7 separate regions of the Homo sapiens genome follow, and all the other regions are linked to region 3. The links are contacts of gene promoters, found by promoter capture Hi-C in blood cells and fetal thymus (Javierre and others, 2016). All regions are on one chromosome and are shown on one strand. Each heading gives the region's core, a stretch centred on a gene start or on the middle of the fragment in contact. The rest is flanking DNA. Distances are from core to core; before and after follow the strand shown. Region 1 has its middle 49 kb from the start of LINC00114. Region 2 has its middle 5.2 kb from the start of LINC00114. Region 3 holds the start of LCA5L (lebercilin LCA5 like). Region 4 holds the start of ERG (ETS transcription factor ERG). Region 5 overlaps LINC00114 (long intergenic non-protein coding RNA 114). Region 6 overlaps LINC00114 (long intergenic non-protein coding RNA 114). Region 7 overlaps ETS2 (ETS proto-oncogene 2, transcription factor).

What was found. The method cuts DNA at HindIII sites, captures the fragments that hold promoters and counts their contacts. A CHiCAGO score of 5 or more calls a contact.
Region 1: a contact is called between a fragment that was not itself captured here and the fragment with the promoter of LCA5L in region 3, in 1 of 17 cell types (naive CD4 T cells). The highest score is 5.0, in naive CD4 T cells.
Region 2: a fragment that was not itself captured here is called in contact with the fragment with the promoter of LCA5L in region 3 in 2 of 17 cell types (total CD8 T cells and non-activated CD4 T cells); the score reaches 8.1 in total CD8 T cells.
Region 4: a contact is called between a fragment that was not itself captured here and the fragment with the promoter of LCA5L in region 3, in 1 of 17 cell types (fetal thymus). The highest score is 5.5, in fetal thymus.
Region 5: a fragment that was not itself captured here is called in contact with the fragment with the promoter of LCA5L in region 3 in 5 of 17 cell types (non-activated CD4 T cells, naive CD4 T cells, total CD8 T cells and 2 more); the score reaches 7.4 in non-activated CD4 T cells.
Region 6: a contact is called between a fragment that was not itself captured here and the fragment with the promoter of LCA5L in region 3, in 2 of 17 cell types (naive CD4 T cells and total CD8 T cells). The highest score is 7.2, in naive CD4 T cells.
Region 7: a contact is called between a fragment that was not itself captured here and the fragment with the promoter of LCA5L in region 3, in 3 of 17 cell types (naive CD8 T cells, total CD8 T cells and activated CD4 T cells). The highest score is 5.9, in naive CD8 T cells.

The regions. Positions count from the first base shown.
Region 1 is chr21:38,722,345-38,725,777 of GRCh38, reverse strand. No RefSeq gene overlaps it. Among named protein-coding and RNA genes, the nearest start is that of LINC00114, 49 kb to the left of the region's middle. The HindIII fragment of the contact is 3,600 bases long and covers 1-3,262 here.
Region 2 is chr21:38,776,905-38,780,391 of GRCh38, reverse strand. No RefSeq gene overlaps it. Among named protein-coding and RNA genes, the nearest start is that of LINC00114, 5.2 kb to the right of the region's middle. The HindIII fragment of the contact is 978 bases long and covers 1,737-2,714 here.
Region 3 is chr21:39,444,475-39,448,020 of GRCh38, reverse strand. LCA5L (lebercilin LCA5 like) reads left to right here and starts at 2,243. Exons shown (of 11, transcript NM_152505.4): 1 at 2,243-2,296. The region is part of intron 8 of GET1-SH3BGR (GET1-SH3BGR readthrough); the gene reads right to left. It overlaps MIR6508 (microRNA 6508), which reads right to left and starts at 1,011; the gene lies at 952-1,011. It also overlaps a transcript of SH3BGR not described here. RefSeq lists a silencer at 2,073-2,332. The HindIII fragment of the contact is 3,319 bases long and covers 1,149-3,546 here.
Region 4 is chr21:38,497,717-38,501,278 of GRCh38, reverse strand. ERG (ETS transcription factor ERG) reads left to right here and starts at 2,802. Exons shown (of 10, transcript NM_182918.4): 1 at 2,802-2,916. The coding sequence starts at 2,899. The HindIII fragment of the contact is 7,853 bases long and covers 1-3,562 here.
Region 5 is chr21:38,758,822-38,762,459 of GRCh38, reverse strand. All of the region lies in intron 1 of LINC00114 (long intergenic non-protein coding RNA 114), which reads left to right. Among named protein-coding and RNA genes, the nearest start is that of LINC00114, 13 kb to the left of the region's middle. The HindIII fragment of the contact is 1,211 bases long and covers 766-1,976 here.
Region 6 is chr21:38,740,718-38,744,323 of GRCh38, reverse strand. It overlaps LINC00114 (long intergenic non-protein coding RNA 114), which reads left to right. Exons shown (of 7, transcript NR_027065.2): 4 at 2,952-3,003; 5 at 3,256-3,440. Among named protein-coding and RNA genes, the nearest start is that of LINC00114, 31 kb to the left of the region's middle. The HindIII fragment of the contact is 6,104 bases long and covers 1-3,606 here.
Region 7 is chr21:38,809,618-38,813,013 of GRCh38, reverse strand. ETS2 (ETS proto-oncogene 2, transcription factor) reads right to left here. Exons shown (of 10, transcript NM_005239.6): 2 at 2,908-2,979; 3 at 1-11. The coding sequence starts at 2,979. Among named protein-coding and RNA genes, the nearest start is that of ETS2, 5.4 kb to the right of the region's middle. RefSeq lists an enhancer at 902-2,101. The HindIII fragment of the contact is 6,932 bases long and covers 1-3,396 here.

The DNA of each region.
Region 1 (3,433 bases), core at 213-2,712, 720 kb after region 3:
TCTGCTTTTGTGTGTGTGTGTGTGTGTGTATTGGGGGAGGAGAAAATGAATGTCTGAATAATAAGTTGATACAATCACCCTCTTATTAATAATATTAATCAAAATACGTTAACCTCAATAGGAAGATTCCAAAAGTTTCATCCAATCACGGTGTTAGACTCAAAGTTCAAGATCTCATGGTCTACATCAGGGCAAGATGTAACTCCTCTTCACTCCTTTCGAAGTAAAAGAACACATTGATTTCTCTCCTGTACACACACATTCAGAATAATATAGTAAAATGAGGACAGGATACTTATAGTAAGCACACCTAGGTAAAAGGGAGAAGAATGGGAGGCACATATTAGTCACTGGTCCATAGCAATTTTGAAATCTCACTTGGCAAATGTTGCCAGGCTCCCCTGCATTGATGACGTTGAGTGTTCTCTGATTAGCCCCAGGTTCAGGTCACTGAGTCTAGTTCCTCATTCTGTTGTTTGGCATAAGTCTTGGCTCTGTTCTCTGAGTTCCTCTCCCTTTTGTATCATCTCCTGGGGCACTTCTGAAAAAGATTTCAGAAAATGTGCTCTATTGGTGGCCCAGAAACTTTCCCAGTTGGCTTTCATTTTGAAGAACGTTGGGACTGTGATGGTTACTTTTGTGTGTTAAGTTAGCTAGACCATGGAATCCAGATATTTGGTCAATTTTTGGACGGGAATGATATTTAAACCAGTAGATTTTGAGTAATGCAGATGACCCTCTATAATGTGGGTGGGCCTCATCCAATCAGCTGAAGGCTGATAAAAGACTATTTCCTCTGGAGAAGAGAAAATTCTGTCTGTAAATTGCCTTTGGACTAGAGCTGCAACACTGACTCTTCCCTGGGTCACAAGCCTGCTGACCTTCCCTACAGATTTTGGACTTGCCAGCTTCCACAATTATATGATCCAATTCCTTAAAATTCCTTAAAATCAATCCTTCTCCATCCCTCCATATCTATCATCTCTCTCTCTCTCTATCATCTATCTATCTATCTGTCTATCTATCTATCTATCTATCTATCTATCTATCTGAACTCTTCAGAGTTCTGGAGAACTCAGATTTTGGACTTGCCAACTTCTACAATTATATGATCCAATTCCTTAAAATCAATCCTTCTCCATCCCCCATAGCTAGCTAGCTGTCTGTCTGTCTGTCTGTCTGTCTGTCTATCTATCTATCTATCTATCTATCTATCTATCTATCTATCTATCCATCTATCGAACTATTCAGAGTTCTGGAGAACTCAAATACAGGGGCCCAGGGATCCTTTTATATTTGGAACAGTTTCTGGCTCTCTCAGAAAAATTTGTGTATTTTATATATATTTGGTTTCCGTCTAGTCTATGTACCAAAAACCATATCCGTAATTCATTTAAAAATATTCCTTTCTCGATGTGCTTACTGGTATTATAGGTGGTGTATCAGACTGCTCTCACATCCCACCCTTAAGTTTTCTAAAAATCTTTTTGAACAATTGAAAGGATTACTAGACTCCACCTTAATTCTTATGAAGTTCTTAACAATGTATCTTGCAACTGTGTGTTTGATTTGGTCTTTACTCTGAGGTCAGGCCTTGCTGGAAGCACCCTGGGGTTGATTATTGCTCCCAGGCTGTATCCTAATTTGAAAATATTTTGCTGACTGGAAAGGCTGGAAATGAGAAACAGTTTTATTTTCTAACTCAGCACGTTCCAAATTCTTCATATTCCCTCCAAATTCTGCTTACAAACTGGCCAGTTCTTTTCTGAGCTCATCTCCTTTTTGAAGTCAAAAGCAACCAACCCACACTTTCAGTATTCTGCCTGGAGATGTCCATGCCTAGATTCATAAGTTAATTGGGTACATTTTCTATTTCAGACTCCTTAACATGAATCATTACTGTTCAGCATCCTCAAGTTATTTTCTCTCATCATCTTCTCAGCCTCTTTAGGTTTCTCTACTTCCTTCCACTGGTCCCCAAACCAATTCAACATATCTTGGGTTTTTGTTAGAGTAGCACTCCACTTCTGGTACCAATTTCTGTTCTGGTTTCTTATGGCCATAGTAATGCTGTGTAAGACACAACCGCACAAGCTCAGTGGCATACAACAGTAGGCATTTATGTAATTCATGCATCTGGGAGTCAGCAGGGGGTCAGCTAATCTAGGTTGGGTTGATTAATCCGGGTCTGCTGATTTTGGTAGGTTTGCTCACACATCTGGAGGTCAGCCAGCATTTGGCTGATGTATAGTGGGTTCAGCTGGACTGGTTCAACTCTGCCTATGTCTCTTATCCTCCTGTTAGAAGCAAGAGTCCAACCTGGTAGTCTAGTCTCATGTCCATGGCAGAGCAAAATAATTTGAGTGGAAACCCATGAAGCCTCTTAATCCTAGGCTTAGAATTGGCACATCCTCAATCGCCTCATTCCACTGGCTGAGGCAAGGCACATGGACAAACTTAAAGTCAAGGAATAGGAAAATACACTCTATCCTTCATGGGAGGATGGGAGGGTGAAGAATGAATATTTCCAATCAATAATCTAACCTATCCACTCCCCGATTATTCTAATGAGGCCATGTTTCCATAACAAACTTCTTCAGAATCTACAGCTGAAAGGTCCCCGTGTGGTTTTGAGTTAGAGCTAGCCCAAAGGGAAATTTGAGTGAGATTTTAAAAGCAGACGTGAAGCCGTGGCCGTTGCTGTCTGGAGGCCTTTTGATCAGCCAGATGTGGTGGTGGGTAGATGTAGCGGTCGCTCGGGGTTTTCAGCGGGCGTCCTCTGTCCTCTCTTCTGCCGAGCCCGTGATGCTGACTGCTGGTCTTCCTAGGTGTTTGGCTGTAGACCCTAAGAGGTGACACAGTGTCAGCGGCAACCCCCTTCCTGCCCTCTACCTCTGTGGCCTCATTTGGCAGCAAGGTGTGTTTGGCTTCTCAAAGTGACTGGCTGGTATCGCCACCAAGGATCCTCTCCTCGCACCCCCTGCCCCTGAGACTTTGGCTTCTTCAGCTCCCTCCACAACTATACAAGGTCTAATTTCTACAATAAAAGTTTTTTTCTCATAACACTCACAGTGACTCTGCTCCCCTGCTCAAGGGGCACCTGGCTGACACAGGCCCTGAGGCTGCCACAGCCCCATGTTCCCACCACCTCCAGGGCTCAGCCAGGAGCCCTGTGTCTGCAGCTACCTCCTGAGCTCAGCAGCTCAATGCCAAACTCTTTCATGCTTCTGGTGTTTCTGCAGACAACTCACGCATCAAAGCTTGTCTACCCAAGCCCCTTTCCCCAGGCTACTGCTCTCTGCTTCCCACAGTTTATCTAATCAAGATGATAAAAGATGGTGGACTAATTTTGTATTTTTAGTAGACGGGGTTTCTTCATGTTGGTCAGGCTCCCGACCTCAGGTGATCCACTCGTCTCGGCCTCCCAAAGTGC
Region 2 (3,487 bases), core at 976-3,475, 670 kb after region 3:
TATGTTAAAATGCATCTACTTCTCATCTTAAATATTTTCAAATGTAAAGTAATTTGAAACAATTAAGAGAAAACATTGCTTTCAAAATTAGTTGGCGAAAAGTAGTTATTTTCGTTCCTGGTGCATGCTTGAGAATTCTGAATTCTGATGAAGTGAGAAAAACAAACTTACACATTTTTTGCAAATGTAATGGAATTTGTATGTATGCAAAATTCAGTTAATGAGTTGAGATAAGGTTACATTTTGTAGACATTTGATGAACCTATTTTAACTTCCTGATGTTTCTTTCTTGTCTAGGCTTTCAAATATTTTCATAGGCGCTAGAAAAGCTATAGGCTCAAAGCAACAGCCCTGATGCCCAGTGGAGAAGCTAGCCTTACAGAAAGTGTTCTTTTCATTTCTTTTCTATTATTCACAAATTCCTTTCCATATCATTCTTTCAACCTTCTTATTAGAATTGACTTTCAAGTTGATATATTAGTTTCCAAAAGAGGAAGATTCTCCCAGCCTTAATTAATGAAGAACTTACATTTCATTCCTCAAATACATGACTTCTGTCAGGATACTTCTGTACCCACCATGGATGTTATTTAGCTAGCTAAAGGGATAATGGTATGGTTACATTGAAAGAATAGACAAATCTTTACCATTCAGCTGTGCAAAAGTTATTTATAAGACATAGAAGATATACGCTACATACCCTAGTAAATGTGATCGTATAAAATAAAGGAGAACAGGCTGGGCATGGTGGCTCACGCCTATAATCCCAGCACTTTGGGAGGCCAAGGTGGGCAGATCACCTGGGGTCAGGAGCTTGAGTCTATCCTGACCAAAATGGAGAAACCCTGTCTCTACTAAAAAAATACAAAATTAGCCGGGCATGGTAGTGCATGCCTGTAATCCCAGCTACTCGAGAGGCTGAGGCAGGAGAATCGCTTGAACCTGGGAGGCAGACATTGCAGTGAGCCGATATCGCACCATTGCACTCCAGCCTGGGCAACAAGAGCAAAACTCCATCTGAAAAAAATAAAAATAATAAATAATGAAGGAGAACAAACCAGATGCTGATAGAATTCAGAAAAGGGGTGTTCAGGGAAGTGTATCTTGGAGGAGGTGGATCTGCCATTGAAATGAAAGGGTAGGCAGGATTTCAACAGGCAGAAGAGTGAGATCAGATTGAGATTTCAGATGGAGAAAGGAGCATCAGCAAGGAGAGATATGCTGGTTTTCTACTGCTGCCAAAACAAATGAACAGACATTTGCTGGGTTAAAACAACACAAGATTATCTTACAGTTCTGGAGGTCAGAGGTCTAATACAGATCTTGCCAGGCTAAAATCTAGGTGTTGGCAGGGTTGCATTCCTTTCTGGAGGCTCCAGGTAGAAATGCATTTCTTGCCTTTTTCAGCTTCTAAGGCTGCCCATTCCTTGGCTTGTGGCCCCATCCTCCATCTTCAATGCCAGCAACGGTTGGTTGAGTCTTTCCTGCATCTCATCGATTTGACACTGACTCTTTCAGTTTCCCCCTTCCACATGTAAAGATCCTTGTGTTTACATGGGTTCCCACCTGGAGAATCTAGGATAATTGTATTAGGCCATTCTTGCATTGCTCTAAAGAAATACCTAAGCCTGGGTAATTTATAAAGAAAAGAGGTTTATTTGGCTCACGGTTCTGCAGGCTATGTAGGAAGCATAGTGACTGTATCTGGTTGGCTTCTGGGGAGGCCTCAGGAAGCTTCCAATCAGGGTGGAAGAAGATGGAGCAGGCATCTCATATGGTGAGAATGAGGGCAAGAGAGAGCAAGTAGGGGGAAGGTGCCACACACTTAAAAACCAGATCTCCTGAGAATTCACTCATTATCACAACAGCACCAAGCCATGAAGGATCCGCCCCCATGACCCAATCACCTCCCACCAGGCCCCATTTCCAACACTGGGGATTACAATTCAACATGAGATTTGACAGGGACATATATTCAAGCTGTATCAATGATCTCATCATTTCAAAGTCAGCCGATTAGCAACATTAAATCTATCTGCTACCTTAATTCCCCCTTGCTATGTAAGGAAATATATTTACAGGTTCCTAAGATTAAGATGTGGACATCTTTGGACAGCCATTATTCTGCCTTCTAGAAGAGGGAAGCATGAAGTAACAAGTTTACTTAGGTGTCCAGTACTGACTCCCCAAAAACATCACCCCAACAACCTGCTGGTCAGGCAAAGCTGAGTTTACTGCTTCCCATGGTAAGCAACACAACTATCTCAACAAAGTCTGCATAGTATTTTCTGTGAGTATGACAAAGTTGGGCTATTTGTAAGGTTTAGGGGGTTTGGCAGGTCTTTCAATGGGGAAAGAAGTTTGAATAGGATTAAGGATCATGATATAATGGTTCAGGATTGGTGAAGACAGCAAGGTGAGGGTTTTAAGGCAGGGTTCTCAGAAGTGTATTGGAGAGTAAATAATCCTTGATACTAGTTATTGAAGAGTTGAGTAGTTTGATAATCACTTAAATTAGTTTTTCTGGGAAGTTCCTGAAACAATACAATTAGTAACTTTTATTTCCTGGGCAACGATTTCTTAGAATAGTAAAGTCATATTAGAGAGGGCAACTTAATAGTGAAGTTCTGCCAACGCAGACAGGAAAGCATGTGGGTGTTGGTGGTTTCTGCTCGAGTGATAGACTGAGGCCATAGAAGGCTTTCGACCAAGCTTGTCCAACCCACAGCACACAGACCACATGTGGCCCAATACTTTTTTAAGATATTATGATATTTTTTTGTGTGACTATTTTTTTTTTAGCTCATCAGCCGTTGTTAGTGTTAATATATTTTACATGTGATCCAAGACAATTCTTCTTCTGATGTTGCCCAGGGAAGCCAAAAAGAGCTATATGCTATTTTAAGGAATTTGAATTTTATTTGGATGAAATGTACATAACCACTTGCATGAGAGGAAGACCCTGGCAGCAGGTTGGAATGGAGACAAGATTGGAGCCTGGAGGCTTATGAGGTGGATATTGAAATGGTTCAGGCAAGAGGAATTGAGGACTTCAACCAGAGAGAGATTGCAGCATTTACTGCTTATTTGCTCATTCATCCAGAAAATACTCTACCAGTTTCATCTGTGTGATGCACTGTCATCCACGCTGGGGTTCTTGGGGACCAATATGGGCAAGGATGTGTTTTGTGGCACTTAAGGAGAGCTCACACTACACACACATGAAGAATGACTGATTTCATGACTCTGTTGAAAGACCTTCTGAGTCCAAGACTCTGATTTTTTGGCAGGTTAAAGTCTCATCAGCTTCAAATTTGAAATTGTCTGCATTCATTTCTTCTGGCCATGGTAACAAATGACAACAAGCATAGTGGTTTAAAACAACACAAATATATGATCTTACAATTTTAGAGGTCAGAATTCCTAAAAGCAAGGTATCTGCAAGGCTGCATGCCTTCTGGAGGCTCCAGCAGAGAATTCATTTCTT
Region 3 (3,546 bases), core at 994-3,493:
AGCTGGAAGACTCAAAAAATTCTCCCTAAGAGCCTTCAGAGGAAACATGGACTTTCAGACAACTTGGTTTCATACTTCTGACCTCCAGAAATGTGAGAAGATAAAGTTCTATTGTTCTAAGCCCCTAAGTTCGTGGTAGTCTGTTATGACATCCCTAGGAACCTAGGAACCTAATATAGAGAAATAAAGGCTATGCTTTTTATGTGGCATGATGGAGATGGCCCCAGAATAGTGAAAGGCCATGGCTCTTCTCCTTCCATTGTGTACACAGAAAAGAACACCCCTTCGAAAGCAAAAGCAAAGGCCAGGCACGGTGGCTTATGCCTGAAATCCCAACATTTTGGGAGGCCGAGGCGGGCAGATCACTTGAGGTCAGGAGTTCAAGGCCAGCCTAGCCAACATCGCAAAACCCCATCTCTACTAAAAATACAAAAAGAATTAGCCGGGTGTTGTGACTCACACCTGTAATCCCAGCTACTCAGGAGGCTGATGCAGGAGAATCACCTGAACCCAGGAAGCGGAGGTTGTGGTGAGCTGGGATGGCGCCACTGCATTCCAGCCTGAGCGATAGAGTGATACGTCTCAAAAAAAAAAAAAAAAAAAAGCAAAAGCGAAAGCAAAGAAAGATTCAAGGGCAGATTTGCAGTGACTTATCATGTCTACAGACTGGGAAAAGCTGGTAGAAAAGAGGAGGAAACCATTCTCAGGAAACTCTACCTTTCAATTCCTCCAGTCATGAGCTCCAGGGTTGGATGCTCCCGCAATGGCAAAACTCCGCTCTCGTTACTGTCATGGGGCCACCACCACCCACCAAGCATCAGCCCATCTTTCCATAATGTCAAGTCTAGAGTGACATTTGTCTAATGTTTGCCTACCTGGAGATGTTGCCCCGCCCACCACCACCAGCAAAAACAACCGGCACCCATCTTATACGGATAATTCCCTACCTAAGGAGTTCTAGAAATGCATGGCCCACCAAAACTCAGGGTGGGTCATGCATTTCTAGAGGAAGAAATGGTGATATGGAGAGAAAGCTTGTCCTAACCCACTTCTACCAAAGTAGGATTAAAGTCAATTTGAAAAAAAACACCCGTTTCTCCTTTTATATAAAAACCAAATGCAGAAACTATAGAGAAATGTAATAAGCTTGACTCTACACAAATACCAAAATACACTGTAAACAAAATTAAAGGTAACTGACAAATTGAGGAAATATTTGCAACGTATATCACAAGCCAAGTTTTCAAGCATCAAAAGTCCTTACAAAACCCATTTTTACAAAGATGAATGTCAAGTTTTAAAATGGACAAAAGACAGGAAAATGCAAATCACACAATAAGGACAAATGGCACTCAAGATATGGGAAAAAGTCTATTCTTCCTACTAAAAAGGAAGTGAATACAATTAAAGATGCCAATTTTTGACAATAAAATGGGCAAAAAAATTTTAAGAAAAAAGAGAATTTCCAATGCGGGCCAAGTATCGGGACACTTACTGGAAGGCAGTTTCCCTCTACCTTTAGAAAGCCTCAAAGTGAGCATATGCTTTGGCCCTGCAACCTCGCTTGTAGGAATTTATCCTAAGGAAACAGTCAGGGGTGACCTCAAAGATTCATCTGCAAGGATATTCAACATGGCTTTGATGCAGGAAAAAAAGTAAATAAATAAAAGGAAACAATGTAAGTCTTCCTAAATTATGCCAAATTCCTATGCTGTCATTAAAAAACATCTATAACTCCATCATCTAGGTGATTTTGACTTTTGCTTTGGACTTGCCTGTACATTTCTAAATTCTCTATGCCAAACATGCATTGTTTTGTCATCAGATTTTGTTTTACAAAAAAAAAAAAAAAATCGTCTTTATGACAAGGGGTTAATAGGGGAACTGTGCTTCCCAGGAATTGACCAGGCGTCTACACCCACCTACTGACTCAAGTTACCTAAGACTGACAGAGCCTTAAGAGGTCAGGAGAGCGCCAGAGCGCGTGACAGGCTCCCTCGTCTCGGTGCGGCCACGCGGGAAGGCAGGGTCCCGGGCGCCGAACAGGGACGGCAGGAGGATCGTTTACAGACGTCTACACAAGAAACTCACTTCCCGTCACCGAAGACAAACGCGAGGCCACACTGACCTCCAGGCCCAAGACGCCCCTCCCCGCCGCGGCTCCTGCTGCCCGAGTGCGCATGCGCGCGCCCAGCCCCCGCAGGCCGGCGCTTCCCAGGAGGCCCCGCGCGCGGGTTTCCATGGGGACGCGCCGGCGCTGCGGCGTTGGCGCAGTCGTGGGAACAGCGCGGAGCAGGTAACGGCCCCGCTGCTGCCGTCGTCCCCCTCAGCCGGTTACCCTGTTACAGCCCCAGCTCTGGGCCCTTCCGGACCCTCCTGCTACGCTCTTTCTGGGCTTCCAGTATCGCCGGTCACTCAGTCCTCGCCCCTGCCTGCCTCGCTGGCGCCCCGCCGTTTCCTCCTCGCGGCACAGTTTGCCAAGGAACAGCTACCCCGGCTCGGCAGTGACCGGGCGCCCCGGCGACACACGTACTCTCAGGCCCGCTGGGCAGGGGGACGGCCTGGGCCGAGGTGACCTAGCGCTCCCGGGGCCGCGCCTGGGTCTGGCGAGGGGGCGGAGGCCGATCTCACCGCCGCCCCACCGAGGGAACTTTGGGGTTTTTCTATCTGAATCTTCTATCTGACCTCCGATTTTGCCTCTGCTTACTTGCTGTTTTGCTTTGGATTAGTTTTTCTTTCTAACCTTAGCGCTGGCATCTCCCTATCTCGTAGGAATCTAAATCTTTTGAAATGTCTTCTCTGTCTGTGTTTGTCCCCCACTCACCCAGCCTCGGGGCTCTTTATCCACACCCTCCCCTCAGCGTGTTAACGTTTCGTTGCCACACTTAAGCCAACGGTTAACTTTTTTCAGAGACCAGTTTTCACGGCTGAATGTGAGCTTGAGCCTTTTTTCTGTCTACACTCAATCCCTAGATGAACTCATCCAGTCGCCTGTACTCAGAGCCTATCTGAATTCCAGTGAGCCCCAAGTGTGCATTCCCAGCCCTCGCCCCTCCCCTGAACACCAGATCCCTGCATTTAGCTGCCTGCCACATCCCTACTTGGATGTCTACGGCATCTCAAACACAGCTCGTCCAAGATAGCGCTCAATAATTCCCCAAGCCAAGCCTGTCCTCCCACAATCTTAATCCATCATAGTTGCTGGAAATTCCATCCTCCAGTTGCCCGAGTCTTGCATCCTGTTTGAGTCCTGTTTTTCTCTTCCTCACCTTCAGTCTGTCAGCACTGCCTTCAAAATGCACCCAGAATAGATTCACAATTCTACCATTTCTCTCAACCGCCACTGTCACCACCTTGGTCCAGGCCCCCATCATCTGGTGCGTGGATTATTTTACTTGCTTCCTAATTGGTTTCCCTGAGTCTGCCCCTCCCCCACTTGAGCATGACAGTCTTAATGGTATTTCCCCGTTCTCTGTTATTTCGTATGAGTAAGTTTTTTAAAGGATTATATAAATTACAATTTCCTTATATAAATTACAACTTCCA
Region 4 (3,562 bases), core at 839-3,338, 950 kb after region 3:
TGGCTAATATGGTGAAACCCCGTCTCTACTAAAAATACAAAAAAAATTAGCCAGGTGTGGTGGCGGGCGCCTGCAGTCCCAGCTACTCGGGAGGCTGAGGCAGGAGAATGGCGTGAAGCTGGGAGGCGGAGCTTGCAGTGAGCCGAGATCGCGCCACTGCACTCCAGCCTGGGCGACAGCAAGATTCCGTCCCAAAAAAAAAAAAAAAAAAAAAAAAGATGTGCCTTGTCCTATCAAGAGCCAAAGATTTTTTTAAAACACTTTACATTAAATAGTCAGAGATTACCAGGCTTGGATGCTATGATGCCATTTGAAACATCAAGAATTATTCTCTTTGAAGACAACAGGAATCAATCAAACATTTTGTCATTAGAAATGAGGAGGAGTTTCCTTTGTAAAATTTTGGAACAGAATTTACCACTCAGTATCCCCAAATTAACTTTTTATTAGATCACTTTTTATGTTTGTATGCATTTCCAAAATTAGACGCAGTAAAACTTATGGATCGAATATTGATCAAATAATAGCATCTGTTTTTCTCTTTTTTAGTATCCAATAAATAAATTTGTCTCTTATAAAACAATATTTTTATTAGTTAGAAAATGATGGATATATGCATGCATGTATGTTATACATAAATAAATATGGGAGAGAGAGACAGAGATTGAGAGAGAGAGAGCATGTGTGAGAGAAAGCAGAGAAAATGATGTACATTGGCACCAGTAGACAATCAGAGTTAACCAGGCAAAGGGTATTAGGAGTTTGGTGTATTATCTTGTGGCTTTTCTGTAAGTTGGAAATTATTTCAAAATAGAGAGGTAAGAAATCCCACTCTTCACAGTTTGATTTGCATTAGGCAAGAACCAGGGAGTTAAGGCCAAATCATCACTGAAGCATTAGGTCCCAGTAGAAATGCTGATCTTTCCTGCTGCAGGGAACAACTGAGGGCTGGATTAGCAACCACGAGGCGTGGGTGAGGCGGGACCACACAGGATTTTCTTCCGTGGCTATTTCATTAGCAAAGCGTTCATCTTATTTAAAGCTGGTGTTTGGTAAAGGCATAATCAGGTGCCATGTGTTGTGGAGGCCACAGTTAACATTTTACATTGATGCTTCTTAGGAGAGAACAAAAAGCAAGGACACTCAGGGAAGCTGAGAGAGCTTTTCTCCTCCGCACTCCAGAATTCTAGTGGAAGCTGCCCAGATAAAACAGCTCAGGACTTTGAAATTTTCGGGGAAACAGAATTTTAATCAGCCTGCCATCTTATTCATTGTTCAGAGATGAAAAGAGCGGAAATCAACACCCCCTCATAATGTAGGTGCTGAGAACTTAGGTTCTGATTTCCACAGAATGATTTTCTTACAATATACTCTCTTTCTTTTCTTTTCCTTCTTTCTTTCCCTCCCTCCCTCCCTTTCTCCTTCCTTCCTCCCTCCTTCCTCCCATCCTCCTTCCTTTCTCTCTCTCTTCTGTCCTTCCTTTCTCCTTCTCCATTTTTTCTCGCCCTCTTCCCTCCCTCCTCCTCCTCCTCTCCTTCCTCTCCCTTTCCCCCCTTATCTTTCTCCTTCTCCTCCTTCTTTTGTCCTAACATGAGGTGATAAATCAGAGGTATATAATAAAAGCCAGAATGACCTGGGCTGGTGGACAGAACTCTGACACATGCCGGCCTAAAGTCTGAGTGAAATCCATTTACTGAACGTCCAGCTCTGCAACCAGGAATTGTCAGATGACTCAGGATTTAGTCTATTGTGTTCTTGGGGTCGCCTATTGAGACCACACCTCTTTATGGGTCCTGCGTTCCTGTAGCTAGATTCAAAGCAAAATGTTTCTTCCAAGCAATTTCCTGAAAATGAGTAATTAAAGTCCTGAAACCCTCTAAGGAATGTTCAGGCCTGCATTCGCTGTACTTCCTTCGAGGAGAAAACAGACCTGTGACCCTGAACTTATAGCTTGGATTTTAGACATGTAATGGGGCCCTCACATGGCATCTCTGGGTAGCCAAAAGTTCTATGAGGATCTGTTGTCTGCAACATGGATGTCTGTCAGAGTGAGACCAGCTCACTGATATTCCGGGACATTTGTAGTCACTTCAGTTATTTGGGTTTTAATAAATACTTGAAAACAAGACTTAGGAAGGTTTATTTTTCCTCTTTATTTTTTGTGTTTACTGTAAGCCTAGAGTCCTTGCGTTTTCAACAACTTTGTTGTAGAGCAAATAAAAAGTGCAGGTATTTGGAAGGAGAAAATGAAACTGTTCTGGAACACTTATATGAAATGTTGAATAAATATAGGTTGTTAAAAATCAGCCAGGCAATGGCTGTTACTGAACATGGCCATCTATTAACATGAAATAAACTCCACCTGCAAAGTTTCCTTTTAGGAGAAAGGAGCTCAAGTCCTCTGTCCTAGTAATTCTGCGAAGAATTGGGCTGCGAAGGGCTGACACCCAGGGCAGTGGGGTGCCCTCAACGCCTTGGCTCCAAGGTGCTTGCAGCCCGTGTGAAGCCATGCGGAGTCCCATCACATCTGCATCCTGCCTTGGTCTCAGTGCAGTGTGTCACACGGCGGCACACCGGTCACACCTGCTGTGGCAGTCCCCATCCCAATTGATGCCTTTTCTTTTTTTAATTAAAAAAAAAAAATCTCCTGGCTGCATATCATCAAGAAAAACAACATTGTTTTCAGGGTCTCTTATCTCTCCACTCCCAAATATCCTGTTTCTTTGGGCTGGACAGCCAGGACCAATAGAAACCTCTTCCTGCCATTGGCTGACTTCATTTCCCAGACTTAGCACAATCTCATCCGCTCTAAACAACCTCATCAAAACTACTTTCTGGTCAGAGAGAAGCAATAATTATTATTAACATTTATTAACGATCAATAAACTTGATCGCATTATGGCCAGCACTATTAAGGTAAGGAAAGGGTTCCTTTTAATTTGACAAAATCTTGTTCTTGTTACTCTTTTCTTTGGTTTCCTTTATCAAGGCAGATAAGTTAGGGTTGGGCAACACCCCCACTGCCACAATAGAGGACAACAAGATTTCCTTTGCACTGCCTAGTAAATTTCCTTTTTCCTACTCCAACCATCCGCAAGGCTTAAAAACTTCAAACTCAGAAAAAAATTGGGGTTTCTAAATTCACTGTTGAGTGCTGTGGATTACTTTTGGAAAGGCTTTTCGGAGCGCTTCTGAATTTTCAGATTCTCTAACTATCCCTAACGGTGCCTGGATGTGTGTCTGAGAAAAGGCAGCAGACTCGGAGAGGTTGAAGGGTCGGGTCAAAGCAAAAGATGCGTTTGTGAATGTCAGACATTTGGAGGCTCTTCAGTGGCTCCTTAGCATCAGGGATGCCAGGCAGTCCCAGTGGAAGCGAAGAGATACTCGGCAAGTGGCTGCTGGTAATGGGACGCAAATGTTGACTTGATTTGTGGGACATCCACGCTGAGAACTGAGTGCTCACGTAACTCAAATGGGGGTAATTTGGTTTGTTCCACTATATGTTTATCTTCAATAAAATACCTACTGTCTGTGCACTGTGAGTAAGATTTCTTCCAGCAAT
Region 5 (3,638 bases), core at 122-2,621, 680 kb after region 3:
TCTTATGTGAACTGTATCTCAGTAAAAATAAAAGTCAAAAGAAACCTGGAGGAAACCAAGACTACACCTACTGTTAACACCTTTAGAGAGATGAGATGAGTTTTCTTCTATGCATCAAGAATGAGAGACCATACAGGAGATCGAGACCATCCTAGCTAACACGGTGAAACCCGTCTCTACTAAAAATACAAAAAATTAGCCGGGCGTGGTGGTGGGCGCCTGTAGTCCCAGCTACTCAGGAGGCTGAGGCAGGAGAATGGCGTGAACCCGGGAGGCGGAGCTCGCAGTGAGCGAGATCGCGCCACTGCACTCCAGCCTGGGCGACAGAGCAAGACTCTGTCTCAAAAGAAAAAAAAAAAAAGTGAGAGACCATAAAAAAGCAACATTTGGAAAATAACAAGCACTGGGCAAGCTTGGGGAAAGTCACATGATAGCCAAAATGAAAGACCCAGTACAAGGATTAGAAGGCATGGCTGGAAAATTGTATTAGAAAATAGAGCAAAGTGAAAAGAGAGAAGAAAAGGGAGAGAATGTATGAAATTGGAGGCCCAGACCAGGAAATGCAGCTTCCAGATGAATTCCAGGAGGAGAGAACAGAGAAGCTGGTAAGTCTTTAAAATACAATTCAAGAAACTTTTCCAGAAATGAATAACACCAGCTTGCAGGTCTAAAGGGCCTAGTACAAGAGATAAAAATAGACCTACACGAAGCCTCGTTGCTGTGCAATTTCAGAGCAGTGAGGACAGGAAGAAGATTTTACAAGCTTCCAGGGAGAAGAAAAAAGGCAACACATGAAGACTCAGGACTCAGAATGGCTGTAGCTTTCCCTGCAGCCGCTCTGGGAATGACAAGAGGATGGGGCTTTCTGCAGGAAGGTGGTTTTCGACCTGGGCTTCTACACCTATAGAAACTATCAATCCAGTGCACAGGCAGAATAAAGGCATTTTCGGAAATGTTGAGGTGTCAATTAGAAGTTACAGGTTAGGCCAGGCGTGGTGGCCCACACCTGTAATCCCAGTTCTTTGGGAGACTGAGGTGGGAGAATTGCTTGAGGCCAGGAGTTCAAGACCAGCCTGGGCAACATAGCAAGACCCCATCTCTATTAGAAAAATAAATAAAATTAGCTGTGTGAGGTGGTGCATGCCTGTAGTCCCAGCTACTCGCGAGGCTGAGGTGGGAGGATCACCTGAGCCCAGGAGTTTGAGGCTGCAGTGAGCTGTGTTCATGCCACTGCAATCCTGCCTGAGCGACAGAGCGAGACCTTGTCTCCAAAAAAAAAAGTAACAGGTTAAATATTCATCTTGCAACAAGGATTGATCTTGAAAACTATCCAAAAGGAAAAGAGTCAAATCATGACGAGATAAATAGCATGAGTTACGTAAATTAAAAGCGTTTACGTGAAACACAGTAGGCACTTTGCAGATGGTTGGCAAACATATCCCCCTGGAGTGAAAGAAGGAGAAAGGGAGAGGGAAGATGATGAAAATAGGAGGGAAAGTGAGGAGGAATGAGAGGAGCAGGGAGTGAGCAGGTGGCCTGTGTGCCTTCTACCAAAATCATCACAGAATATGAGGTCAGCTTTGCAGAATCCGAAGAACTTTCATCGAAATAGCAAAAGCCCCATTCTGCCCTCAGAGAACTTACCTTAATGTATTAGTGTGCTAGGGCTTCCATAATAAAGTACCATAGGGTAGGCGGCTTCAACAACATTTATTTTCTCCGTCCTGGAAGCTAGAAGTCTGGGATCCAGGTGTGAGCAGGGTTCGTTCCTTCTGAGCCTCCCTCCTTGGCTTACAGACGGCCGCCTTCTCCCTGTGTCCTTACATGGTCATGTCTGTGTTCTAATCTCCTCTTCCTGTTAGGACACCAGTCAGATCGGATTAGGGCCCACGCTAATGACTTCACTGCATCTTAATTATCTCTTGAAAGACTATCTCTGAATAAAGACATGCTTTGAAGTACTGGGGGTTAAAGCTTCAACAGATGAGCTTGGGGGGAACACAGTTCAGCCCCTTCCAAACAGGTGGATAGACAGCTGTCAGAGATTGGGTTTCCTCATCTCTAACATGTACACGAGAACACCACCTAGCTCTCAGAGGTGTCTGAGAATCAGGTGAGAGCCAGCTGGAAAGGGCACGTGAGAGAGCACTGCCAGCAGCGAAGCACCCAACAGGCCTCAATTCTTATTTCTGCAGGTCGAAGCCCAGATCTCCAACTCAGACCTCCATTTGATGCATTGTTTGATCTTATTAAAGCTGTAAGTTCCCAGAACCATTTCCCACTTTGCAGCAAAAGCCACGTTAGCAGAGTCTTATCGTAACATGCCTGTCCATGATGCCATTTCATGATTTGTTGTTTTGAACGGATTGAGCTGAATCATTCGGATTGGCACTGTTTTCTCTTTCTGGGTCTGACTGGAGAGTCTGGCCAGGGTCTAATCAGTTGAATTCCGGTTAAGAAAGGACCTAGTCTCTTCTCCCTACAACTCTTCTTAAGATGCTTTTATCCCAAGAAAAATGGGCTTTTTATTTAATATAAACAGAAGCACACGTGAAAGTTTGAGCCTTTTTGCAAGTGTGAAACAAAGACTTCTATTTTTATCTTTTGCCAAACTTGACATTTTGTTGTGAGCCCTGGAAGGGGCTCCTTTTTTCAGAAGGGAGAGGCCCTCCCTGCCTGGTCTCCACAGCCTCTCAGGGAATGTGGTGTTTAATGATGAGTTATTAGATAGTCAGAGGCATTTGCGGAGCTGTATGGGAGTGCCAGATCGCCCTCTGATAATAAATTGAGCTAAAGTCTGTTGGCATCGCAGACAGGGCTGTGTTTAAGTGAAAATCTGAAACCTGACCAAGAATATGGAGCTAAAGTTTGAGGCCTCAGCCTCCAATGTCATTTTTCTGAACGACATCCAGCAGATATCGGATAAGCAGAAATGCCATTAGGAAAGCCCCAGGAACTACTCGCTGAGTAGACAGAAGATGCCTAAAGGCAGAAGGGATCTCCAGAGAGTTCAAGAAACTTCCAGGAATGGCTGGTTGGCCACATGAAATTAATGGAGACATCATGAAAAGATTTTCTTTGGTTTAACAAAATTGTGTCAGTCATGCATAGCTGTGTTCAGCTTTGGGGGTGCACAAAGGTGAGATAGACGTCACCACTGTTGTCAGGGGTTTACAGATGTGCGTGTGTGTGTGCATGTGTGTGTGTGGGAAGAGTGTCAGGAGGAAAGGACAGCAGAGGGATTTCTTTTGATCATAATACAAGGTAAGGTGGAAGGTATAATTCAGTTTAATATGGTTTTTCTCCCCACTCCCATCCCCTTTCCTGGTCAGTCTTTATTTTTCTTCAGGGCACAACCCATGTTCTGTTACATTATACATTCATTTGCTTATCATGTTGGTGGTTTCTTGCCCCAGCCAGACTGTACCAGGTACAGATGTTTCTTTATTCCTGGCACTCAGCGCAGTGTCTGGAATGCATTAGGCTCTGCAAGTCTGTGTCGGGTGAACAAATACTAAATACAGGAGAAATCCCCACGAAGGCACGGGACGAAAATTCCAGGAGTCTCACCCCTCAAAAGGCTGGGGGTTTGGTTCCTCCAAACCATGGGGTGGCATGGGCTGACAAAAAAACAAAAT
Region 6 (3,606 bases), core at 202-2,701, 700 kb after region 3:
CAAAAGCCATTTACTTTTGCACAAATAATAATAAATCAACTGACCTATAACCCTGCAATGAATTCAGGAAATGTGTGTTCCCACTAAACAATTAGTGTCCTGGAGTGACATATCGAGCAGTTACTTTTGCAACAGCTTTTAAAGACATTATACTATACGCAGAATAAGAAAGAAGGAAAAGGAATTACGTTTTTTTTTACCGTAGTGGGGAAAAGACGGATCTTTTTGCAGTGGGAGGGTTTTAGCTTATAGGAAATTCACTCTCAAGAGCAGCTTCCAGCCTTTGAGATGCCCAGGTATGCAGGAAGCTCAAGCCAGCTTGGCTCAGTGGCTCCAGCGTGCCTCTGGTCAGTTCCTCATGCAAAAGGAGCCGCTTTGGATTGGCCCAAGAATGGGGCTGCGGGCATGCAGAGCACACCGGGCTTCTGAGAGAAGGGAGGAAGGTATCTGGTAGATCCCTCCCATGGCATGTCCAGTGTGTGCATGAAAAGCGTGATTTGGGGCTGGGCGTGGTGGCTCATGCCTGTCATCTCAGCACTTTGGGAGGACGAGGAGGATGGATCACGATGTCAGGAGTTCAAGACCAGCCCAGCCAGTATGGTGAAACCCCGTCTCTACCGAAAACACAAAAATTAGCCAGGTGTGGTAGCACGCACCTGTGATCCCAGCTACTCAGGAGGCTGAGGCAGGAGAATCACTTGAACCCAGGAGGCAGAGGTTGCGGTGAGCCGACATCGCGCCACTGCACTCCAGCCTGGGAGACACAGTGAGACTCCGTCTCAAGAAAAAAAAAAAAAGCATGATTTCAGAACAAAAAGCAAAGAAGGAAGACCAGGAGAAAGAAAAATGCCAACATTTTAACTGGTGGGATTCCCAATAGTTGTTTTCTTCTCTGAATTTTCTAATCTGAAAATAATTTTTAATAATTATGGCCATGCATCATTGTGTAGGTGAGTGTGTGTGGAAGAGACAGAGAATGAGAGAATGAGAGAGAGAGACAGAGACAGACAGAGAGAGAGACAGAGACAGACAGAGAGAGAGACAGAGACAGAGAGAGACAGAGAGACAGAGAGAGAGACAGAGACAGAGAGAGACAGAGAGAGAGACAGAGAGAGACAGAGAGAGAGAGAGAGAGAAAGAGAGAGAGAGAATGAGAGAGAGAGAGAATGAGAGAGAGAATGAGAGAGAGAGAGAATGAGAGAGAGAGAATGAGAAAGAGAGACAGAGAGAGAGAATGAGAGAGACAGAGAGAGAGTGAGAGAGAGAGACAGAGAGAGAGAGAATGAGAGAGATAGAGAGAGAATGAGAGAGAGAGAGAGAGACAGAGAGAGAGAATGAGAGAGAGAGAGACAGAGAAACAAAGCAAGATGGCTATCTTGACTGATGATGACGATGACATTTTTAGTTTAAATAAATTTTAGAGGACACAAGTTCCCTACAAGAAAAAAGTACCAAATATAATAATGAATTCTAGGTTCTTCCATATTAGGTAAAGAACCTGTACACATCATAGTTTTGTTGTCATTTTTTCCTGAAGCAGCATTCCTTAGAAGCATTCCTAAGGGGTCTGTTCTTTAGCAAGAGTCCAAAGATGTGTTCCATGAAAAAAATATGAGAAGTTTGGAAAATAATCACCTGCTGGTGACTCCTTCATTTATTTATTAATAAGTATTTGTTAATAATTGAGATCTCACTATGCTTGAGACACCATTCAAGACATGCAATATTTAAGATACAATCTCTGCCTTCCTAGTACTTATATAGTACTCTAGATAGAGACGAGAAAGCAGACCAGCAGAGTCCAGGGACATGGGACCAACATAGCTGCCATGATGATCCAGAGACTCCTGCCCTGCAGTTGCCGATTAAGGTCTGAGAAGTCCTATAGTCAAGAGACCTACTTAATTTCTATAAACTCCATATTGCCAAACCTTTATGTAATAAGTTTTGATACCTCTCAAAACTTCTGCAGTCTACACTTGTGGAAACACTATCGTTTCATAAACCCAGCAATTCAATGTAAATTTATCATTGGCTTCCCTAAAGTAATTGCTTGGGAGCTCTTGTGCTTGGAGAGTTTGGAAACACATTAGTCTTTTGCAGAAACGAGTTAGGGCAGCTGGGGAAGATGACCCTGTTTTCCCTCCCTTCTCTACTTCTTCCTCAAATGACTGGTATCTCGAATTTGCATAACGGAGGCCAAAAGGTTTTGTGCTACAATAAAAGATAAGACTTGAAGAACAAGTCCCAGATATGACCAGGAGCATGCTTGAGAGTCAGCGACATGCAAGCGAATGATATGAGAAGTAGCTTGAGGGTGGATCTTTGTCCAGGGAGGAGAAGGGTTGAGGGGCTCTTGGAACCTAGATATTTGCAGTGGAAGCAGCACTGGGCTCCTTGGCAGATGACTGCTCTTTGTACTCAGGATAAAACCCACATTTGCTGCCCAGCATCTGAGGCCCTGCCTACCTTGGGGATGTTGTAATGTTTTTCTTCCCCCTTAGTTCCAGCCACACTAAGGTTTTGAGCCTGAGATCACCAGGCTCCCTGAGTCCTTGGCCTGTACCCTCACCTGCAATGTTGGTTTCCTCAACCCCTCAGATCTCTTACTTAATGCCCCTTCCCTTTAAGGTGCCCCTTCACTTAATTTAAGGGCACCTCCCTTCCTGCTATCTTTTTATTTGTGTGCTCTCTTGTTTCCTGTTTCCTGATTGAGAGTCACCTCCTGGATGGCAGTTCAGCTCTACTGTGTCCCCATTGGAGACGCAGGCCCCACTGCCAACCACACAAGAAATAGGCTCTGAAATATTTGTTGGATCCATGAATGGTTGATTGGCTTTCATTGGGCTGCTGGGAGGATTAAATTATGAATGTATAAAGGTGATTACATCTCATTCCTATATACCCATTACATTGATGGATAAGTATTAGGTTCTCTCTCCTCTTGCCAGGGACTTTAAGAAGCTGCTGAAGAACCCAAGAGGAAGGTGGGAGCTGTTGATGGTGAGCGACTCATACCACCATCCTTCAGGGAGGGTGTGGTTGGCCATAGCATGGTTAAGGAGAGCCAAGAGCAGAGATGCTTCTGAGTACAACCCAGCAGGGTGGAAAGAAGGAGGGGTCTACCCCAGTGCACATTTGTTGGAGGAAGGCAGCTTTCGTGGGCTCCCGACATTCCATTATTCTAGAACTACAAGTTAAGAACGAGAGGAGACTTGGGGAGACTCTGGTCCAATTCGTCTTTCTTTTTTCCAGGTGTGGAATTAGAGGCCTGATGGAGTGGAGAGCTTTCCTCCTCATCACCTGGGTCAGGACCATGGAGCTCCTTGAGCCTTGAGATTCCAGGCCCAGGAGCACATCATCATTGTGCTTCTTGGGGCCCAGGCGCATCTCCTAAGAACTTGTTCTTAGACATGTTGTGCTCAAACTTGTGGCATCATGTGAGTTTTAATGTTAAATCTGGAGCAAGGAAGGAGAGAAGGAAGGAAAATGGGAAAGAAGAAAAGAAAGAAAGAAGGAAAGAAAGAGAGAGATTGAGAGGAAACCAGATATATAAAGACTTTATATATATAAATATATAAATATATATGTATAAATAAATATATA
Region 7 (3,396 bases), core at 758-3,257, 630 kb after region 3:
GCTGGCTGGCGCTGCAAAAACAGATGGAAAAAAAATGGAAATACAATATTTAAACTGATTGAATTACCTGTTGTAAAAGTGGTCTGTGGGCAATCCTACCAATAGTCCCTGATTAAACTGGCAATTTTGAAGCAAACATGGAATCAACCAGTCAGTCCTTAAAACAGACTCGTAAAATGGTCAAAGTGACTGAAATGATTGTATTTTACTGTGGATTATTATTATTATTATTTTGAGACAGGTCTTACTCTGTCACACAGGCCAGAGTGCAGTGGTGCAATCTTGGCTCACTGCAACCTCCCCCTCCTGGGTTCAAGCGATTCTCCTGCCTCAGCCTCCCGAGTAGCTGGGACTACAGGCGCCCACCACCACGCCTGGATAATTTTTGCATTTTTAGTACAGACAGGGTTTCACCATGTTGGCCAGGCTGGTCTCAAACTCCTGACCTCGTGTAATCCACCCGCCTTGGCCTCCCAAAGTGCTGGGATTACAGGCGTGAGCCACGGTGCCCGGCCACTGTGGATTTATTTAAGTAACCTCACAGAGTCGGAGTGACTGGGAATTTGTTTTAGTGGCCTAATCCACTTAAGTTAATATATTAAATACACAAATCTGAAAATAACAGAATCTTACAATGGTGTCGAGAGGAGCCTCAGAGACCCCTTTACCAAACACCTGACCCTCCTGTTACATTGAGAAAAATTCAACTAGGCTGTGTGTGTAAGAAAAATGACCCTTGACAAGGCCGTCTGAGCACAATGCAGTTAAAAGGCAAATGACCCGATAAACACTGAAAAATCAAACAATGAAATACACTACTTTATCTTTGGAAGCATTTATTTTGAAATGTTTGCCATGAAACAATTTAACTGAAACTAGAGATGCTTTTCCACATCAATTCCAATGGTTTGGAAAATAGTAATACATGACAAAATTCCTTAACGTTTCATTTTATAACAAGTAAAGTGTCTTAAAAATGAACCCCCTCCCCGCCCCCAGGCCAGGCGGGGTGGCTTATGCCTGTAACCCCAGTGCTTTATGAGGTTGAGGCCAGAGGATCACTTGAGCCCAGGAGTTCAAGTCTGCGGTGAACTACGATCAAGCCACTGTACTCCCGCCTGGGCAACAGAGAAGGACCCTGTTGCTTAAAACCAAAAACGAAAAAACAAATAAAACAAAACAAAAAAAACCCAAATCACCTACTAAGGGGAAAGATTTCCAAAGGAAATAGGTTTAAAGTTAAACTAAACTATCTGCAGAAAAGAAGAGACACACAGAAAGATAAAACCTTACACTAACTCGATTTCTGAGCATCTTACATAACATTTATGAAAGAAATACCTTTTAATGTAAGACTCATTTGAAAGTAACCGATAATATCTGGATTCATCATCGCCTAAATTGTTGAGGAACACGTGAAGAAAGACTATATTTTTCCAACATAAGCTGGAAATCCCATGTTATGTGTAATACAATGACCCATCTGTTGAGTCATCAATAAGAAAATGTGTAACACATTTACAAATAAAATCGGTTACCCGCTTTCTTTTTAGAAATGCAGAACAATGAATGACGCATTACAAAAGAGGGCAGGCAGAGGCTGGAGCCCAGCCCAAAAAAATCCAAGTCAATGATGACCAACTGCCTGAGATCTACGAGGAAAACCGATCAATCAGGCAAGTGCAAATTACTCATCTGGATTTACAAACTACTTTAGAGCAGAGCTAATTTTGGTGAAACCTCCAATAAACTTTTAAAGTTCCCACAAGCATTGCCCAGGTGACTAAGAAATGCCTTTCCTAACCGTAAATTCTTTTTTTTTTTTTTTAAAGCCAGGAAGCCAAAAGACAATACAAATCTGTGCTTCCTATTTCAACACATCAATTTCAGCAACGACTGCTTCTTTTCAGAAACCGCATAAGCATCGTCAAATTATTTGAATTAATAGAAGGATTTTTCTAAGGGGTGTGGTTTCAACTTAATACCATGATTTCTTGTACCACTTCTGCCATGCTTAAAATGTCCGGCCAAATCAAACAAGCAGACTCACTAGGCTGAAGTTTGATGACCTTTAGAATACTGCAGAAAGGACTGTGCTGAGTTTTGCCTCTTTGGGTCATATCAGACAAATAACCTCAATAATGATATACAAAGGAAAATGTAATATGCCAGAGACGTACATCATCATTATGCAAGACGCTAAACTTTGAGGAGGCCAATTTTAAAATCATGCTTCTGAAACATGTTTACTACATAATACTGAAAACAATCAAATCTTGCTGTCATATTTGGAGAAGACAAGTGGGAGATTACCAGTTTGTGCTACTAAAGAATGTTCCCAAAAGGAATGATGATAGAAGCTACATAAAATGTTTATGCAGCAGAGAGGGCGCTTTCATTTTTCATCTGGTTTTTGGTTTAACATAAGTAGGCCTGCTTGTTCTCTGAGCCAGTAACAGGCTACCTACAATTCCACGGGCGCTGCCCTTTCTGATAGGAGCTGTAGCGGTTGGGTCTGTCTGCCTCTTCTCTCTCATTTCAGTTCTTAAACAGCTTCCCATCAACCAAGGAAACTCCTGGGTAGACAGAAAAGGCAGTAGAGACAGCCTCTCCAGCTGTTTTATTGGGAGTTATAGGATTTTCACCTGGAAGGAGCCTCAGAAAACAAGCTATAAAGGCCTTTGGTTTCATATCGTGGAGGAGAAGAACAACACACATCAAGATACCCATTCTGCAGACCAGAAAACTGAGGACCAGAGCAAGTAAGCAAATAGTCTATAGTCACATGGCCAATAAATTAAGAAGCTAGGGCTACAACCAGTTTTCTGGGACCCAGGCCTTTTTTTTCTTTCCTCCTAGAGATCGAGTTTTCCAATTAAAAAAAAAAATTAAGACTTGCCCACTCACCTTGAGTGTCCCTCTGTAACTGTTAGCCACAGGGGCTACCTGGTCCATATTCTTGATTCCGAAATCATTCATCTTAAAAAAGAAAAAAAAAAAGTCAAAGAGGCAAAAGATTAAGTACACTAAACTCATCATTGGTGGCATCAAGACTTGATCCTGGCTGAGTTCTACAGCTAACAGGTAATTCAAAAGTGAATGCAGGGAATTCTTGTTTAAATGGCTGTCCTCCCAAAGGTCTCAAGAGGAAAGCATTTCTCAGTATCACAATGGGATATGCTGTTTCAGTGATTGAATAATAATGCTGATTCCTCACTGAATTCCACTTAGATGTCACAGAAAAAGTCACTTGCTGGCTGGCTGGTCAGAGCCTCCTTGCTGGGTTAGCAGGGCAAGAGGGCCTGGGTCAGGCTTTTCATTCACATTTCCATGGCCAGCTTAGGTGAGTGCTTGGGTGGGTACAGTGGGGCAGTGGGCCGCCTCCTGTCTGCTCTG